Linked DNA regions of Homo sapiens: all the other regions are linked to region 5. The links are contacts of gene promoters, found by promoter capture Hi-C in human tissues and cell types (Jung and others, 2019). All regions are on one chromosome and are shown on one strand. The core of a region is centred on a gene start or on the middle of the fragment in contact, and the rest is flanking DNA. Distances in the headings are between cores, read along the strand shown.

Evidence for each region. Contacts are between HindIII fragments. The study calls those that stand out against the background at their distance.
Region 1: a contact is called between a fragment that was not itself captured here and the fragment with the promoter of PCBP3 in region 5, in 3 of the 25 tissues and cell types used here (IMR-90 fibroblasts, lymphoblastoid cells and stomach).
Region 2: the fragment with the promoter of COL18A1 here is called in contact with the fragment with the promoter of PCBP3 in region 5 in 4 of the 25 tissues and cell types used here (heart left ventricle, hippocampus, small bowel and 1 more).
Region 3: a fragment that was not itself captured here is called in contact with the fragment with the promoter of PCBP3 in region 5 in 3 of the 25 tissues and cell types used here (IMR-90 fibroblasts, heart left ventricle and liver).
Region 4: a fragment that was not itself captured here is called in contact with the fragment with the promoter of PCBP3 in region 5 in 5 of the 25 tissues and cell types used here (H1 embryonic stem cells, IMR-90 fibroblasts, hippocampus and 2 more).
Region 6: a fragment that was not itself captured here is called in contact with the fragment with the promoter of PCBP3 in region 5 in 5 of the 25 tissues and cell types used here (IMR-90 fibroblasts, aorta, lymphoblastoid cells and 2 more).

Annotation. Positions count from the first base shown.
Region 1 is chr21:45,459,444-45,462,549 of GRCh38, forward strand. All of the region lies in intron 2 of COL18A1 (collagen type XVIII alpha 1 chain), which reads left to right. Among named protein-coding and RNA genes, the nearest start is that of MIR6815, 17 kb to the right of the region's middle. The HindIII fragment of the contact is 3,893 bases long and covers 1-3,106 here.
Region 2 is chr21:45,403,687-45,406,703 of GRCh38, forward strand. COL18A1 (collagen type XVIII alpha 1 chain) reads left to right here and starts at 1,479. Exons shown (of 42, transcript NM_001379500.1): 1 at 1,479-1,555; 2 at 1,693-1,787. The coding sequence starts at 1,545. BNAT1 (breast cancer associated ESR1 regulating natural antisense transcript 1) reads right to left here and starts at 2,676. Exons shown (of 2, transcript NR_183526.1): 1 at 2,481-2,676; 2 at 120-810. RefSeq lists an enhancer at 634-1,334. The HindIII fragment of the contact is 38,297 bases long and covers 1-3,017 here.
Region 3 is chr21:45,866,371-45,869,431 of GRCh38, forward strand. The region is part of intron 5 of PCBP3 (poly(rC) binding protein 3); the gene reads left to right. Among named protein-coding and RNA genes, the nearest start is that of PCBP3-AS1, 31 kb to the left of the region's middle. The HindIII fragment of the contact is 9,205 bases long and covers 1-3,061 here.
Region 4 is chr21:45,842,405-45,845,691 of GRCh38, forward strand. All of the region lies in intron 4 of PCBP3 (poly(rC) binding protein 3), which reads left to right. Among named protein-coding and RNA genes, the nearest start is that of PCBP3-AS1, 7.6 kb to the left of the region's middle. The HindIII fragment of the contact is 8,875 bases long and covers 1-3,287 here.
Region 5 is chr21:45,642,077-45,645,324 of GRCh38, forward strand. It overlaps PCBP3 (poly(rC) binding protein 3), which reads left to right and starts at 1,649. Exons shown (of 18, transcript NM_001384156.1): 1 at 1,649-1,792. RefSeq lists silencers at 854-1,843, 2,164-2,303. The HindIII fragment of the contact is 13,348 bases long and covers 1-3,248 here.
Region 6 is chr21:45,772,090-45,775,200 of GRCh38, forward strand. All of the region lies in intron 4 of PCBP3 (poly(rC) binding protein 3), which reads left to right. Among named protein-coding and RNA genes, the nearest start is that of PCBP3-AS1, 63 kb to the right of the region's middle. The HindIII fragment of the contact is 3,374 bases long and covers 164-3,111 here.

The DNA of each region.
Region 1 (3,106 bases), core at 245-2,744, 180 kb before region 5:
GAGGGGAGGGGAGCTGGAGGGGTCCTGCTGCCTCCTGCCCGGCTCCATCTCCAGCGCCCCCTCCACCTCGTCCTGGGCACTGCCCTGTGTGTCCACCCCGCCGGCCCACCTCGAGGAGAGTGTGGGGGACAGTGCAGCCGTGCTGGGGCGTGGGGGGCGCTCAAAGGGAGGGTGAACCCTGTGGTCAGCACACAAGCAGGGACCCTGTGGAGGGTTTTGCTGTGTTGTGGGCTTGTCCCTCAGGTCCACGAGGAAGGGAGTGAGGCCCCCTCACACGGGAGGGCCGGGGTGGGGTAGGGAGGCTCCCTTGCTGCAGCTGCCAAGAGTGAGCGAGCGGGGCTTGGGCTTGGGCTGCCCGGGACACTGCCTCCAGGAAGCCCCCTGGGCTGTCTCAGTGGGACTCTGTGAGTGACACATGGAGCTCAGGTCACAAGGGCTGTGGGAGTGTCACCCCACAACAGCAACGGGTGCCTGGCCCTCTGGACTTTGCTCTCTACACCCCTCCTGAGCTCTCACAAACCCTGGCCCCTGGGACCGGAGGCAGGTGATGTTTCCAAGGAGTCCTACAGGCAAGCATCCTCTGACCTGGGAGCTGCGTATTGTTCCCGTTTACAGGTGAGAAACTGAGGCCTAGGAAGGACAGACACGTGTGCGTGCCGCAAGTGTGGCTAGCAAGGAGGGAGCCTGGAGGAGGGCCCAGCAGCCTGGCCCCAGAGCGCTCTTCAGCATCGCAGCAGATGCAGGACAAGCAAGCTCCCAGCCGGGGAGCACCAGGAGACCAGCAGGCATCCACCCTCGTGGTGCAGGCCATCTGATGAGGGCAGGGACCAGTGCCGGGATGGATAGTGCCTGTGCACAGAGTGGGGCGCAACTGGGCACAGCTGCCACCGGGGTGCTCGGGAGGCAGGTCCACACACACGCCGGCCAAGTCGCTCATCTCAAATGCACGAGTCCCGTGATCTTGGAAAGTGGTGCACAGGCCCCTGGGCTGGGGCTTCCTCTGCCTCCACCCCCATCACTGGACATTCGGAGGTCAGTGGGAGGCCACGGGAGTGCACGTGAAGGTCATGTCACCATGATGGCCCCGAGGGGCTGCTCCTTCATCGCTCCTCCCTACCCCATGGGCCAGCCACTGGCACACAGGTGTCCTTATATGGTGCTTACCTCTTGCTCCTTTAGTCAAATGCAGAATTTGAGAAAATGTCCCTTCTCCTTAAAATGCTTTGATTTGTTTGATGTTTCCATGTAACTTTGGTTTAAGAAGGGAGAAGACCACTCTGGGAAATAACTCATGCTTATCTCTCACCGCTTGGCAACCTACAAATATTTTTTCGATGATGCTGGCTAAGCTTCTCGTAAATTCTCCATGCCTCTTAGATGCACCAAGAGTGACTCAGCATTTAACTCCTACTGGAGTGTCAAGGGCCCAGTGCATTGGGTGCAGTTGTCTGTGGGTACAAGATCTTGTGTGATTCTGAACTAAGCACAGACAGAATGAAAAGCACAGCACTCCAAACAGGGCTTCCTGCAGGTCCTTTTACGTATATTTGGGTTTTTGTATATATCTAAGGTCAAGCTAGTGGACATCTATCACTTCAACCAGTTACCGTTGTGAGTGTGGTGAGAAAACTTAAGATCTACTCAAGTTTGAAGTGCCATATGCGATACAGTATTCTAGCTGTAATCACCATGTGTACATTAGACCTCTAGAACTTACTTTTCCTGCATAACTGAAACTTTGTACCCTTCGACCAACAGTCACATTTCCTCTTCTCTGTGGGCTGGCCTCGGCTGTGCCCTGTTAGCATTCCCAGATAAACAAAAGCTAAGGGGGTTAATTGCCACTAGACCTTCCCTGCAGGAAATGGTCCAGTAGTCCAACAGGCGAAATGAAAGGACACTACTCAGTAACAGTAAGTCAAGGAGGCCCCCGTTGCCTATGCACAGAGTGGGGTGGCAGCTGTGCCCCATTGCACCCCACTCTGTGCATGGGCACCGTCCATCCGGCACCAGTCCCTACCCCTTATCAGATGGCCTGCACCATTAGGGTGGACACCTGCTGGTCTCCTGGTGCCCCCCTGCAGGGCTCTTCCTTGTCCTGCATCTGCTGCAATGCTGAAGAGCAGTCTGGAGCCAGGCTGCTGGGCCCCCCTCGAGGCTTCCTTGCTAGCCACATCTGTGGCACACACGCATATTTGTCCTTCCTAGACCTCAGCCCCTGACAACCACCATTCTACTCTGCTCCTATGAATGTGACTTTTTTAGATCCCACATGTGAGATCATGCAGTATTTGCTTCTATGCCTGCCTTATTTCCTTTAGTTTAATATCCTCCAGGTTCATTCATAAAAAGTGCAGTTACAAACTGTTGTTGCAATACCAGCTTTTATAATTGCCCATGTATTTACCTTTATTGAGATCTTCATTTCTTCATGTGACTTACTGTTATTGACTAGTGTCCTTTCATTTTACCTGCTGGACTCCCTGGACCATTTTCTGCAGGGCAGGTCTAGTGGCAATTAACTCCCTTAGCTTTTGTTTATCTGGGAATGCCAATTTCTCCCTCACTTTTGAAGGACAGTTTTACTGGATATAGGACTCTTGGTTAACAGTTTTTTTTTTCTTTTAGTACATTGAATATATTGGTCCACTGCCTTTTGGCTTCCAAAGTTTCTGTGACAAATCTGCTGATAATCTTATTAAGAAGCCCTTGGATGTGATCAGTTGCTTTTCTCTTGCTGCTTTCCAGATTCTCTCTCTGTTTTTGAAAGTTTGATGATAATGTAACTTGGTGTGAGTCTCTTTGAGTTTACCTTACTTGGAGTTCCCTGAGCTCTTAACTGTTTATATTCATGTCTCCCAACAAATTTGAGAAGCTTTCAGCCATTATTTCTTCAGATAGTCTCTCTGCACCTTTCTTTTTCTCTTCTGTTTGCAGCTTCCACGGCATGCATGCTTCCTTGTCTCTTGATGGTGGCCACAAGCCCCTTAGGCTCTTTTCACCTTTCTTTCATCTTTTGTCTTTGAAAATTTCCATTATCTTATCTTCAAGCTCATTAATTTATTCTTTTGTCTGCTCAAATCACCTTCAGATTCCTCTAGTGATG
Region 2 (3,017 bases), core at 229-2,728, 240 kb before region 5:
ACACACCCACTGCACTGCAGAGACACCACCAAACCCTGATAGACACACACAGACTCACTCCTCCATCCACCTGAGAAACAAAAGTTTTGCAGAAGTGTGCGATGACCACTTCTACTCTATGCTGTTCTCCTTAATCTTTTTATTTTTAAAAAATGTGGGTCATAATCCTTTACATTGATTTCCTTCCTCACAGTGCACCGCAAGCACTCAGGGAAGGACTCCAGGTTTGAAGGCAGATGCTGGTCGGGACCCGACCAGGTGGCTGGGCGGGAAGAGGTGAGATCGGGCAGGATTGGGCCTGGGAAGGCTGAGGCAGGCAGGGATGATGCCAGCAGAGGAGAATCCCAAGCAGGCCCCGCGGCTGCGGCTGGAGAGCTCCAGGGGCGGAGAGGAGGTGGGAGGCAGCAGTCAGGTTGGGAGGACCCTGGCAAGCAAGCCCAGAGAGGAGGGCCGGGAGGGCCGGGCACTAGAAGTGTGAAGTCACTGCTGCCTCCTGGGGCTGCTTCAGAGGATGGGTGGGGCCACGTGTGGGGAGATCAGGGAGACTGGAGACTACGCTGTTTGGTCCAGGCATAGGAGATGAGCCCTGGCCGGGAAGGGACAGTGTGGATGGGCCAGGCGGAATCAGAGGGTTTCAGAGAAAGCCGTCAAGCCAGTGCCATGAGTTTCGCGCACACGAGGAGGGAGCAGGCTGGGGGGTGTTGCTGGTGTGAGGGCTCTCTGGTTGCAGGGAGCGGTCCGGTCGGGTGGGGGCACAGCTGCCAGGAGGAAAGCGCCCAGGGCCTGCAGGTGGGGCTCAGGATGCTGGCCCTGAAGAAATAGAAACAGGGTTTTCACCTGGGAGGGAGGAGGAGCCTGGGAACTGGGGAGGAAGAGGCTCTGCTGGGCCGCGCCCTGGGAACAGGGGGACCTGGGGACAGATCTGGCCCTCGCACGCCCCTCCTGTCTCGCGTCCGTCCCTCCGTGCAGCCGGGGCAGGACCCTGCAGGGGCCTTGCGGGCCGGAGGTGCCGGCTTCCTCCTCCGTCCCGTCCCCCCCGCGGTGACTCTATTCAAATCTCCCCCCTTCCCGCTGCCCCACCGGACTCAGGGGCTGGGGTCGTAGCCCGGCGGGCAGCGGTGTTCACCTTCCGCATAAACCTGGGCTTCCTCGCGGGGCAGCCCCCGGGCCCTGTGCTGGGTCGCAGCCTCGGGCGGTTCCCTCGGGGCGGGACGTGTCCCCGTCCGTCCTCGCCCGTCCCCGCCGCCCCCGGGTCCCGGCCCGCCCCGTCCTCGCAGCCGCAGGTCCGCTGCGGCGCCCGCCCCCCTCTCCCCTCCCCGGGCCTTGCCCTGCTCGTCGCTCCGCCCCCTGCCCGGCCCCTGCCCGGCCCCGCCCCGCGCCCGCCCCCTGCCCGCGCCCGCCCCGCCCCCTGCCCGGCCCCTGCCCGGCCCCTGCCCGCCCCCTGCCCGGCCTCCCAGCGGCGGCGGCTGCAGCGCGGCGGTCCGAGCGGGTGCACCGCGGCGGAGGAGGCAGCATCCCGCGGCGCTGACGGTCCTGGGGAGAGCATGGCGCCGAGGTGAGGCCGGGGCTGCGGGCAGGGGTTGGGGGACGCCAAGATGCGGCTGCGGGGGTCGCGGGGGTCGCGGGGCTCGGCCGGGTCCTGCGGGGGTCGCGGGGGTCCTGCGGGGTCTGACCCGTGCCTGTCCCGCGCAGGTGCCCCTGGCCATGGCCGCGGCGGCGGCGCCTCCTGGACGTGCTCGCGCCCCTGGTCCTGCTGCTCGGGGTCCGCGCGGCCTCCGCGGAGCCAGGTAAGACCCGGGCGGGACGGGAAGGTTCGCGCCGGTGCCCGCCGGCCTCGCCGCCCTGGCTGGGGTCCCCGCCCGGCTCCCTCACCCCCGCCCCGGCCGCTCTGGGTTCAGCCCCGGCCCTGCCCACGCGCGCAGGAGGCGCCGGAGCCGGACGGAGCGGGGCGGGGTGGCCGGAGTCCCGCCCATTCATTCTCCCCGCGGGGTCCGGGCCGGGAGGGGTGCGCGGTGCGAGCGGCCGGAGTCCCCGCGCGGGGACCGAACCTCCGCGGCCGGCGGGGTCGTCGGTGCCGGGAGGGCTCGGGGCGGGGCCGCGGGGTCTCGGGAGACGCGGCCTCTGTCGCCGTCACGGCCTCGTCCCCGCAGCGCCGGGTCCCGGGACTGACCGCGGGCGGAAGGCGGCGGAGCGCGGGGCGTCGTCTCCGCGTTTCCAACCTGTTGAGGCTCCTCGCCGCGGGCCGGGCCTTGTGCGCCTCTGTCCCCGCCGCCCTCAGGCCTCTGTCCCCGCGCCCGCCGTGGTGTCGGGTTGCGCGGTCCCCTTTGATGCCAACCGAGCGCCGCGCGGTCCGAGAACAATGCCCAGAAGCCGCTGCCCCGCCGGCCTCGCCGCTTCCCGTGCGCGGCAAACGGTGCGCGGGGCCCGTGGGGACCTTCCTGCCTCCAACCCCGGGACCCAGTTCCCCACCACCTGCTAACCGGGGCCTCCTGCCTCCAGCCAGCCCAGCAGAGGCCCGGGGGAGGCGGCGGGGACGCGGACCCCAGGGGAGCCCCGCCCAAAGGGCCTGGGTGCCTTGTCGCGGGTGGAATCCCACCCGGGGGTCCACGCAGCCAGCGCCTGCCTCCGACTCGACTCCACACCTGCTTGCTACAGCGGGTGAGGAAGCAGGAAAGGGGGAGGGAGGGATGTCGTCTGGATTCCTGTAATAATTTGTTTCATTGTTTCCAATCGACTTAGTCACCAGGTTAAATAGTAGCATAGACCTTTCAAAAAAGTAGCTAGCTTATAAGTAGATGTATTGAAAACACCTGCTTGTTGAGTCGTAGACAATTCCTCATTTACTGTGTGAACTCTAGGGGGTGAAACACGGGCGGAGAGCGGCTGTGAGCTCACGCGGCTCCATCCCCACAGCGGCCCAGGGTCACTCGGGGCCATTAATCAGGCCGCAGAGCTGCCCTCTGAGCCGGGCCGCCAGCGCCCACAGGGCCCAGACCAGGGCTCCCTGGGCGGGATGT
Region 3 (3,061 bases), core at 172-2,671, 220 kb after region 5:
AATGACACAGGGCCTGCCCCATCTGCCCTGATGCCGAGCAAAAGAGAGGCTCATGGAACGTGAGAGGAGAAGGGGCTGTGGAGAAAATGTGGTCCTGCTCGCTCATGGTTAAGGTTAACAGGAACCCAAGACAGAGGCTGGGTGGGAGGGACGTTGTGGCAGAGGCTGTGAGGCCTCCAGGGGCTCAGGAGAAATGAAGGGTCTGTGTCTCTGGGGCAGGAACCAGCCACAGATGGCCTTAGGGGAGGAGAGGACCTGGGGAGGGGTCTGGTGGGAGGCGGGGGTGGCTGGAGCAATCCCAGAGAGGCTGAGGTGTTCAGGCTGGCCCCAGATGCACACGAGCGTGAAGCCTGTTCAGAAGCCAGCTCCTCACACCCTCTCCCCTGCCAGAGGCTCCAGCACCCCCTCCCCTCTCCTCTCCCCTCCCTTCCCTGTGGTCCTCCTGCCCACCCCACCCCCGTCTGCATGTGCACCGTCACGGAGATGCGTGTACTAGGGCGGAGGTCGGGGACAGTCGTCAGAAGGACACAGGAAAGAAGGGAACAGGAATCCCATAACAGAACATTATCCGGCAGGAGTAATTAACACAGGCAGGACTGGAGGCTTTGTTTTGTTTTGCTTAAAAAACAGTGGTATTTAAATTAATGGGCATGGGAAGACTATTCAGTGAAAGACATCGGTCATTGAGGTATCTATTCAAAAACACGGTTTAGTACTCTGCCACACACCGAACGCAACGCCACAGCAGCCATAGAAGCGTGTGTGGCTGTTTAACGTGGTCTTTTTGGGGAGGGCATCCTAGGCAGAGCAGGCGTGGAAGGGAAGGCGGCGGACGGAACAAAACGCGGGCACGCAACGGCTGCTGCGCCGGATCTGAGGCAGGGCCAGCCTGTGGGAGCAGCAACATCGCTCGCAGGACAGCGATGGAGCCCCCACGAATCCGCGTGAAAGCAGCAACCACCTAGAAATGAACGTACAGCTGCTTAGAAACAGAATACGGATGACCCGAAAGACTTCCCGATGGTAGTCACCAGCATACAGGACCTGACACGGGCGTGCGGGCAGGGTGTGCCGCTACGGGGTCCCTGGCGCACCTGCTACCCCTGCTACCCGCATTCACCGCACGCGGAGGGTGCGGGCCGTGAAGGTTATACATGCAAATATCCTTCCACCAGCCAGTTCTCCTTCCAGGAATCTGCCACCCGACCCTTGTGTTGTGCACAGACATGGTCCAGGTGTTTGCGACGTGATTGTTTATCAGAGAGAGAGAAGGGAAATCTCCAGGCTCGCTGTAGCTGCAGGAGCTCTGGGGGCTGCGCCCATCGTGGAGACGGATAGCTGTCTCTCATGAACACAGGACAGCAAGTCCGGCTGCGGCCACAGAAGACTCGCCCTCCTGGACGCAGCGTCTTCCTTCCTCAGCCCCACACTGGAGGTGGCCAGTGCCATCCACAGCAGAAGGGGCCAGCCGGGACCAGGCTCACGCCGTGGAATTCTGCTCTGTGGTAAGAGGAAGAGCGATAGCTGGAACCCAGCGCCGTCGCACACACAGCGGGGAAGAGTCTCAGAAATGTTACTTTGAGTCAAAAAGCTGGACAAAAAAAGGCGCAAGCCAGATGGTGCTGAAGAGGCCACAGGAGGCTGGCAGCCAGGGGGTCTGGCACCTCACTCGGAGGCGCAGTGGGCCCGTCCGGAATTAGTGGCCATACGGCAAGTGCCGAGTGGACATCAAACCGTCACTTCAGACTCCTGCGCTTCACTGCCTGTCGGTTATGCCTGGGTTTTGAAATCAAGTCACAGAACACCTGGAATGTGGTGTTTACGCAGAACAAAGCGGGTGCCTCGGAGGAGAGAGCCTAGGGACAGGGGCACCTCCCGGTGTGGGTGCCCAGGGTTGCAGGGTGGCTTCCTCTGTCTGCGCGGTTTTCAGAGCCCCAGGGTCCTGCCTGCCCGGCTGCCTGGAGGCGGCCCACATCCTGCTCTGCGCCGCCGAATCTCAGCCTGAACAGCTTCGCTGGTGTTTGTGTTGACTTATTTGTTCTTTTTTTTTTTTTTTTTTTTTAAATAAAGGATTCCGATGCTGTTACAGTCAATAAAAGCCACAGGTCTGGGTGACCTACAAATGTGTGTGTCTGACTTTCTGCAGTTTAAATCGCCACTGAGCCTTAAGGCGTCTGGCCCGCGCATTGAGGAATCCACGTGGGTCTCGGGGTCCCCATGCCTGCCCAGCTCCCTGCTTCAGCCTGGGCGGGTCTGGCGGGCATTTCTGCGAGCCTGTCCCTGGGCCCGCCTCCTGGCCAGACTTCCAGAAACATTGTCCACATCCCCGTTGCACGTCCCCCCGTCACCGGAAACTGCAGCCCACAGCACTGGGAAGAACCCGGGAGGCAGGCGTTAGGACGGGGTGGCCGAGACAGGGAAGGGAGCCATGGCGGACGTCCTCACCCAAGCCAGGGCTTCCTGCCCCTGTGGTACTGACAGGAGCCCCGCAGGACGTGGGGTTGGCTTTGGGCAGCTCGGTGGACACTTCTCTTTCAGATCCTGCCACAGCAAAGCTCACGAGACTCACTTCTTCCCATTGGAATTCACTAAGAACAAATTCAACAATTCAGACGCCCCAGCTGGAGGTTTATTTTATGGATTTTACCTGTGCGGTATTTAGGGTTGTGTTTATGAATAAAGGTGTGCGTTCTGGCAAGTAGAAATACAGAGCTTGTCTTTCACCCAAGTATCTGTAACTTTCTCCAATGCAGACACTAAAATGCAATAAAAACAAACCAAACCCATTAAACATGAATTAGATGAGGCAGGCTGATGGGAGGTTGTGGGATTAACAGGCCGTCAGCGGATTGAAGCTGCGCACATCGCTGGGATGCTGCTGCGGGAGGATTCGGTCTAATCCGGGAGCATCTGGCTGGGCAGTGGGCAGCGTCTGCAGTCGTGGCTGCTTGAAGGTATGAAGGTTGTGGCCTTTGCTTCCCCCCATCAGGCTGCCCCACCCTGGACCCCACCCAGACCCCTCGGGCACCCTGGGGTCATCTTCAGCTCCCCCTTCTCTTCC
Region 4 (3,287 bases), core at 523-3,022, 200 kb after region 5:
TTTGTTCGTTCTCCATATCGCCTACTTATTTGTTCAGGCTTTTTTGGAAACTTGGTTTGAGCCTGTCTATAGAAAGCTCAGTGAAGCTGCTTTAAAATCCTGGTAAGGGAATTCTAGCATCTCTGTTATCTCAGTGTTGGCCTCTGTTGATTTTCTTTTCTCTTTCATGTTGAGGTATGCCTAATGTTTGGCACGACACATAATTTTTGTTTGTGTCCTGGAAGTATAGGTTATTATGTTATGATAGTCTGAATCTTACATCAATCTTCTGTTTCGGCCTCTGTTGACACCATGGGGAAGGGATGTCTTGTTACCAGCAAGCTAGGGTGGAGATCCAGGCTCCTCCCTGGATCCTGGGGACACCACCGGTGGGGAGAAGGGTGCTTGGTACTGCTGGGTGGGAGTGGAAGCCGAGGCTCTCAGCTCAGCCCCTCTGACCGGGCAGGGTGCTGTGTGCGTCCTGTCCTGTGCATGGAGCAGGGCAGGTATTCTCAGATGCTTTCTGACCTAATAGGTTCCTCCTTTCCCATCCCTTTCCCTAGAGAGAATTTTCTTGAGACTGTTTTTTTCCAGTGTGTATCCTTTGGCATTTTTCAGTTGCTTTTCCAGTGCCCTGTCTGAAATATAGAGGAGGAAGCACAAACAAAACGAACAAACAAATAAGAAACCCAAAGAATAGCGAACTCACCGCTGTGTCATTCTCCAAATCCCAAGGGCCCAGCCAGTCCCCCTTCTTCCCTCCAGCTTTCAGGGTTCTCTTCTGTTTGTTCCACATGTAATGTCCAGAGTTGTTGGCTGTGCTCAGCAGGAAGAATAGGGAGAGAGGTGTCTATTCCATCCTGTCCAGAACCAGAAGGCATGGCTTCCTTTACGTGACTACTATCCCCTGTGCCTTCGCAGTTGTTTTTCTTGATTAATCTCATCAGAGGGTTGTATATTATTTAGACTTTAAGAACCAAATTTTATATTTACTGATCTTCTCAGTTGCCTTTGTTTCTTTGCTTAACTTCTGAACTTTTCTTTATTATTACCTTTCCACTTTCTGTGGATACTTTCTGTTCTTTTTCTAACTTTTTAAATGGGATTCGTGACTCACTAATTTTGTGTTTCTTTACTCCTTTTAAAAGCTATAAACTTTACTGTGAGTTCTGTTGCAGCTGTTTGCTACAAATTTTGGCATGCAATAATTTTATTATTGTTGAGGTCTGTTTTCTGATCTCATCTATTTCTTATCTGGAAACATTTAAAAAGTGTTTTGTCCAAGGGAATTGTAAAGTTATCTTTTGCTAATGATATTTAATTGCCTACTGAGTAGGAGATATGTTCTGTGGACTCCATGTTTTCAACATTTGTTGAAACCTGCAATATGAACTAAAACGTTATCAATTTTTGTTTTGTTCTCTGAGAGCCTTAGGAGAATGTGTTACCTCTGCTTGTCAGGTACAGGGTTTTATATACACACAGACACACATACGCACTATCATGTTGTTTGTGCTGTTAATATATTCTGCATCTTTATTACTTTTGTGGGGTATACTTGTGTGAACTGTAAAGGAGAGAGGTATGTTGGCATCTCCCACCAGTTGGGCGATTTGGGGCCTGTGACCTCTGACCTCACTGCTCCTTCTTGTAGCATTCTTCCTCCATTAATGCTCGTCTCTCTCCTTGACCTTCTTTCAGTCTTTCTTCTCAGTGTTTCTACCCAAAATTGCAGGCCCCAGCTCCAGCAGTCTGGTTGCGGACAAGGCCGTGCTTGTTTTTCATTGGGCTGGTCTGTCCAGCTCCAAGGCTGCCCTTTGAGCCGGACGATTGACCCACTGCATTAGGAAATGCTTTGCCGTCTTGGTGAGAGCCCCACTTTAGGGAGGTCTTGCACACTGCTGCATGGAGCATAGACACGTTGGGTGGGAGGTGCCCCAGCACCTAAGGACTCTTATGATTGGGTGGCAGGGGTGGGTGGTGCTGCCCTGCCCTCCAGAGCCCTTCACATGGTCCAGATGTCACCCAGCGCAAGGTGAGGGAGCCCTGGGGTCACATTCTCCACCCTCCCTCCAGCATTGTTGCAGCCGCAGGACACCTGCCAGGGTAGAATTCAGCGTGGCTGGAGGATTTTGTGTGGCAGAAGTAATGGAGATGGTAGGCAGGCTGGTCTCCCCGCTCCTCTGTGAGCACTGTGTGTTGGTGCTCCCTGCCAATGGTGCTCCCCGCGGCATGGTTCCACGCGCACCACAAGGGCAGCGTGGCTTCCTCATCTTAGATGTGACAGAATGGAGATAGTTCTGGGTGTTAGCCCACAAAAGTGGCAACGTTAGGGTCCAAACTCTGGTACATATGAAACCATGGTTCTTCTTTCTTCCTCTCCAGGCAGATTCATAAGAAGAAGACTGGGTCTGAGTTTATATACATATATATAAAGTTATATATAAACTTCATATACGTATATAAAGTTATAACTTTATATACGTATATGAAGTTTATATACGTATATAAAGTTTATATATATGCTTTATTTATATATATAGTTTACATATATATATGCTTTATTTAAGGTTGAACAAAATTTTGCATTCATCAGAAGCTTCCTTTTATGAATTCTTAGACTTTTTTACTGGGTACCCCAGAGATTTAAGGTATCAGCTTGAATATCTTCTAAACTGTTCTCCCTAAAAGGACCATACCTGGATTCTCAAGGAGTCCACCTCCGGAGGGGTCACTGACAGTTCTGCTCTCTTATGCCTTTTGTTCATCTTAACCAGCCTTGGTTAGCAAGGGGCACCTGCCACCAGATGATCTCTTACCAAGTCATGGTTTCCTGTCTGAAGCGGTTTCCCTGATGCTGAGAGGCATGAGGAGAATGTTACAGAGAGACAGCATGCTGCCTTGTGATTGTCTGAGGTTTGAAACCTTCTGGTGAAGCTGAAACCATTTCTTAAGAGCCTGGCTAATGCTGTGAGCTGCTTAAGCACCCGTGTGCACATGTGTGTAAGTGTGTGCCTTTGCCATGTGTATGCATGTGAGCTGCTTAAGCACCTGTGTCCACACGTGTGAGTGTGTGCCTTCACCTGTGTATGTGTGTGTGTGAGCTGCTTAAGCACCCGCGTGTACACGTTTGTGAGTGTGTGCCTTTGCTGTGTGTATGCATGTGTGTGAGCTGCTTAAGCACCCGTGTGCACACGTGTGAGTGTGTGCCTTTGCCGTGTGTATGCATGTGTGTGAACTGCTTAAGCACCCGTGTGCACATGTGTGAGTGTGTGCCTTTGCCATGTGCATGCATGTGTGTGAGCTGC
Region 5 (3,248 bases), core at 399-2,898:
CCTCCAACCCCAGCTGACGGCCGCCCTGAGCCTGGCGTAGACGGCCCGGAACGTTCCCTGCGTGGGTTCCGTCCATCCCGAACCCCTGTCCCCGCGCCGGCTCCGGGGGTGCTCGGGGGGCCGCGTGGGGTCTGTGACGTCGCCTCGAGGCTGCATCCCGGTGACCCGGCAGCCCCTGGCGCTCGCGGGAGGCGGGCGGGCGCGGACCCCAGGCTTTAGGGCGCGATTCCTGCAGCTGGCTGCCGGCCCGAGGTTCTGGGGTGTCTGAGGTCTCGGGCGGGGCGAGGACGTTTCTCCGGCTCAGCCCCCCCACCTCCTGCCCTGCCGCCCCCCACACCCAGCTCCCCACGGACGCCAAGAGGCGCCTCCCACCCCGGCGAGGACCCGCGGGGAAACGGGGCCCAGGCGCGGCGACTGCGGAGGACGCGCCTCGGCCCCAGCGCCCTGGTCCTCGGGGCGTCCGGCTGCCCTTGCCCGAGGCCGGGGCGGGCGCTCAGCGCCGCGGAAGAAACGCCCGGGCGGGGACGCACAGCGAGGCGGGCTCCGCGGGAAGTACCGGGAAAACGGCGCGGAGCGGAACAGCCCGGAGCCAGCCCAGAGAAAGGGCGGCCTCCCCCTGCAGCCCCCGGGGCCCAGCAACGCCCCGCCCCAGGCCACGGCACGCGAACGCCGGGCGGGCGGAGGGGACAGGGCGGCGGGACCAGCGCGGGGCGGGCAGCGTCTGGGCACAGGCTCACGAGCCGCTCGGGGCCCCTGCCCGCCGGGCGCTGCGGCCCCAGCCTCCGGGCCGGGGCCAGGCCCACAGAGAACGGGAAGCGGGCGCTGCAGGGGGACCTTCGGGGTTGCGGCACGGCTGGGAATTCAACGGCCATTCCCGTCCCGTCGGGCCCACCCGCCCGCCCGCCAAATCCCCGCCCACCGCGGATCCGCCCCGTCCACCAAGGTCTCGCTCACCAACGGCCCGCCCCGCCCACCACAGGCCTGGCCCGCCCACGAAGGCTCGCCCCGCCCATCCACGGCCCTGCCCACCACAGGCCCGCCCCAAGCCTGGGCCCCGCCCCAGCAAGGGCACTAATCCCCTAACCCCCGAGCCCCGCCCACTGCTCTTGCCCTTCTCCCGCCCGCCCCGACTTAGGCCTCTCCCCGGCCTGGCCTCCCGTACTCAGCCCCGCCCCTGCCCCGCCCCCACCCCACCCCAAATGTGACCTGCCCCTCCCACTGCCCGTCCCCTCCCCGCTTCACTTCATTAGGCCCCCGCCCCGATTCTTGCCCCGCCCGCTCAATGTCCCGCCTACGACCCCGCCCACTACTAGTGACCGGCCCGCCCGTTCGAGGCCCCGCCTCCTCCCCGCCCAATGCTCGGCCCCGCCCCGCGCGTCATTGGGCCAGGTCCCCGCCCCGCCCCCAGCCCCACCCCCGCCCCTTTGACTGGAGTTGGCTTTTTCCAGAGAACTTTCCGGGCTCGGATTGGCCGCGCCGGTTGATGTTCCGCCCTTTCATTGGCCCGCGGCGCCCGCTTTCGCGAGCCTGCCCTTGGGCGGGGGCGGGGCCGGCGGCGGCGCGCGGCGCTAGATTGGTTAGCGGCGCAGAGGGGCGGGCCCGCGCCGCGCGCAGCGCTCGGGCTGGAGCGCCTGAAGCCGCGACCGCCGCCTCAGCCGCCTCAGCCGCGGTCGCCGCCGCTTCGGCTGACTTAGGCTCCGCCGCCGCCTCCTCACCCGCCTCGCCCCGACCCCGCCCGGGCCTCCCGGCCTCTCCCCGCCGGCCCGCGGGCTCGCCGTCCGGCGCAGGGCAGGTGAGTGAGCGGTGGCGGGCGGGGTCGGGGTCGGGCGCCCTTGCGGGTTACGGGGACCCAGTCCCCGACGGAGGCCGAGTGACGGGGCGACCCCGGGCCGCGGCAAACTTCGCCCGAGCCGGGGCGGGCGGGGGTCCCGGGCTGGGTCGCGCCGTCCCCGACCGCCGCCGGCGCCTGCGGCGGCCCGGGGCAGCGAGGGGACTCGCGCTCCCTCAAGGTGCGGTCGCCAGGCCTGGCCCGCCCGCCTCCGCCCCCTCCCCAAATTCGGAAGTTGCGGCGGGAAGCCGAGAACGTCTCGGATGTGGGTCAGAAAACGTCTGGACTACTTGAGGCTTCAGTTTCAAAACGGCACAAATTTCATCTCTTGATTGAGAAGAGATCTGGGGAACACCCCGGAGCGGCCGCGGCGGCTGGAGGGCGGCGGGGCGGGGCGCGGGGCCTCCTCCCCCTGGACGGCCGCCGGGAGAGCGCGGCCTCACCCCTCGGTGACCCTGCGGAGAGCCGCGCGCGGGCGGTGGGGCGCGCGCAGGTCTCTCTTGTTGCTCGCTGTGTTTTATTTTAATTTTGGGGGTGGTTAGAACGTGTTTCTTATTGTCCCCACACGTGTTCTAATTGGAAGTCTTGTTTCGTGAAAGAGTTTTTTTCTTTTTTTTGCCTGGTGATGTTTTCCAATTCCCTCCGCGCCACTCTGAAGTATATTACTGGCATAAGAAATTTGAAAGTTAACCAAAAGTCGGGTCCTAAATCTCGTGGCTCGGGGTTGGTTATCTTCCACCGTCCTTCAGAGCAGCCTGGATTTGCAGGTCTTGTTAGCCCTCCATGTGAGCCAGTAGCACTCTTAGTTGTTGAGTGTTTGTAGAGTGGGATTCGCCAGAAGGAATCTTGAGCAGCAGGGCCTTGCGGAGAGGCCTTTAGAGATTAGACTGGGCAACTTATAGACTCCCCCCATTTCAAAAATATTCCTCTGGCACAGGCCCTCACATATCCCTCTGAAATTGAACTCACTTTCAGGGGCAAACTGTTGCCCTTTTTCTTTTCTTTGGACTTTCTCAGATGTGGATCCCAAAGGAGTGTGCAAGGGTGCTTCCCTATTTAAGAGAACTAACTCCCAGTCCTCCTCATATTCAAGAATAATTCATCATCTTAAAGCGTGTCAGAGATACCTATTTTGGCCCCAAAAGGAGTGTTTGTAGAACAGTGGCACTCTAAAGGGATCATTTGCAAGATCTGAAAGGACCTAATTGATCATCACACGACAGAAGCAGAAATAGTTCTGGTGTTTTCAGGCTTGGAGATCTGTCAGAAAACATGGGGCCTTAAAACTAACAAGTGCAGTGACCGACTAACTGATGTCTCACTTTCGAGCAGTATTTTTTTTTTTTGCTTGTATGTAGATGCTGTTGTTTATACAGTGCAAGTTCATTACGAATGGTTTAGAACTTACGTAGCTTCACGT
Region 6 (3,111 bases), core at 601-3,100, 130 kb after region 5:
CATCACCTGAATACAATATAGTTTTGTTAAATACATTCACCCTACTCTGATATTATTGGGTTTATTCCATCTATCTTACTGAAGGTTTGTAATCCACTTCCTTTCCTCTTCATCCTCTCCCCTAACCCCCATTCACCCTTCCTAGTCTCTAGTATTTATCTTTCCATTGTGTACCTCCATGTGATCAAATTTTTTAGCTTCTACATATAGGTGAGAACATAAGATATTTGTCTTTTTGTGCCTGGCTTATTTCACTTAAGGTAATGACTTTGAGTTCCATCCTTGTTGCTGCAACTGACATGGTTTTATTCTTTTTTAAGGCTGCATAGTATTCCTTTGTGTATATATACTACATCTTCTCTATCCATTCACCCTTTGATCAATACTTAGGTTGATTCCATATCTTATTATTGTGAATAGTACTGCAATAAACATAGGAGTGCAGGTACTACTTTGATATACTGATTTTATTTCCTTTGGGTAGATACCCAGTAGTGGGATTGCTTGATTTAATGGTAATTTTATTTTTAGTTTTTTTGAAAAATCTCTGTACTGTTTTCCATAGTGGCTGTACTCGTTTACATTCCCACCAATGATATATAAGTATTTTCTTTTTCCTGCATCCTCACCAACACCTGTTATTTTTTTATTATGGCCATTCTATTTTTAATAACAGCCATTCTGAATGGTTCAAGATGACATCTCATTGTGGTTTTGATTTGCGTTTCTCTGGTGATTAATTATGTTGAACATTTTTTTCACATACTTCTTGGCTGTTTGTGTGTCTTCTTTTAAGAAATGTCTATTAAGGTCCTTTGTTCACTTTTTAGTGGGACTATTTGTTTTTTTCCCTTTTGATTGAGTTCCCTTTATATTCTGGATGTTAGTCCTCTGTCAGAAGAATAATTTGCAAATATTTTCTCCCTATTCAACAGGTTGTCTTTTCACTCTGCTGATTGTTTTCTTTGCTGTGCAGAAGCTTTTTAATTTAATATAGTTCCATTTGTCTATTTTTGTTTTTGTTGCCTATGCTTTTGCGGTCTTAGTCATAAATTCTTTGCCTAGACCAATGTCCGGGAGAGTTTTCCCTAGGTTTTCTTCTAGTATTTTTATAGTTCCATGTCTTACATTTAAGTATTTTTATAGTTTCAGGTCTTACAGTTAAGTATTTTTATAGTTTCAGGTCTTACATTTTAAGTATTTAATCCATTTTGAATTGATTTTTGTGTATGGTGAGAGATAAGGTCGAATTTTATTCTTCTGCATGTGGCTATCCAATTTTTTCCACCACCGTTTATTGAAGAGGGTGTCCTTTTCCCCCAGTGTAAGTTCTTGTCAGCTTTGTTGAAGATTATGTTGAACATTTTTTCACATACTTCTTGGCTGTTTGTGTGTCTTCTTTTAAGAAATGTCTATTCATGTCCTTTGTTCACTTTTTAATGGGACTATTAAACCAGAAGCTTTGTGGTTTTATTTCTGGGTTCTCTATTCTGCTCCAGTGACCTCTGTGTCTATTTTTATATAAGTGCCATACTGTTCTGGTTACTGTACCCTTGTTATATATTTTGAAGTCAGATAATGTAATGCCTCCAGCTTTGTTCTTTTTGCTCAGGATTGCTTTAGCTATTTGTGCCCTTTTTTGGTTCCATATGGATTTTAGAATTTTTTTTTCTAATTCTGTGAATGAGGTTGGTATTTTGATAGGGCTTGCATTGAATCTGTAGATTGCTTTGGGCAATATGGTCATTTTAATGATATTAATTCTTCGTATCCACGAACATGGGATGCTTTTCCATTTGTGTCATCTTCAATTTCTTTCATCAGCACTTTGTAGTTTTCCTTATAGAAATCTTTCCTTTCCTTGGTTAAATTTATTCCTAGGTATTTTGTGTAGCTGTTGTAAATGTGATTGTCTTCTTGATTTCTTTCTTGACTAGATCACTATTGGTGTGTGGAAATGCTGCTGATTTTGTATGTTGATTTTGTATCCTGCAACTTACTGAATTCATTTATCGCATCTAAAAGTTTTATGGGGCCGGGCGTGGTGGCTCACACCTGTAATCCTAGCACTTTGGGAAGCTGAAGTGGGCAGATCACAAGGTCAAGAGATTGAGATCATCCTGGCCAACATGGTGAAACTCCATATCTACTAAAAAAAAATGCAAAAATTAGCTGGGCGTGGTGGTGCGTGCCTGTAATCCCAGCTACTCGGGAGGCTGAGGCAGGAGAGTCCCTTGAACCTGTGAACCGAGATTGCGCCACTGCACTCCAGCCTGGCGACAGAGCAAGACTCCATCTCAAAAAAAAAAAAAAGAAAAAAAAGTCTTTTTGGTGGAGACTTTAGTTTTTTCTGGATAAAATTATATCATCAGCAAAGAAGGACAATTTGACTTCCTCTTTTTCAACTTGGTTTCCTTTTATTTATTTCTCTTTCCTGGCTGCTCTGGCTAGGACTTCCAGTATTATGTTGAATAGGAGTGGTGAAAGTACGTATCTTTATCTTCTTCTAATTCTTAGAGAGAACACTCTTAGCTTTTCTCTAGTATTATGTTGGTTGTGGCTTTGTCATATATGGCTTCATTATTTTGAGGTATGTTACCACTATGCTTAGTTTGTTGAGAGTTTTTATCATGAGGAGATGTTGAATTTTATCAAATGCATTTTTGCATTTATTGAGATGGCCATATGGTTTTTATCACTCACTCTGTTATGTGATATATCATGTTTATTGATTTCTGTATGTTAAACCATACTTGTATTCCTGGTATAAATCTCACTTGATTATGGTGTATTATTTTTCTGATGTGCTGTTGGATTTGGTTTGCTAACATTTTGTTGAGCATTATTGTGTCTGTGTTCATCAGGGATATTGGCCTGTAGTTTTATTTTGTTGTATTCTTGTCTGGTTTTGGTGTCAGGGTAATGCTGCCCTTGTAGAATGAATTAGGAAGATTTCCCTTCTCTTTGATATTTTGGAGTAGTTTCTGGAGGATTAGTATTAGTTTTTCTTTGTACTTTTGGTAGAATTCTGCTGTGAATTCACCTGGACCTGGACTTTTCTGTATTGGGAGGCTTTTACTACTGATTCAGTCTCACTATTCCTTATTAGTC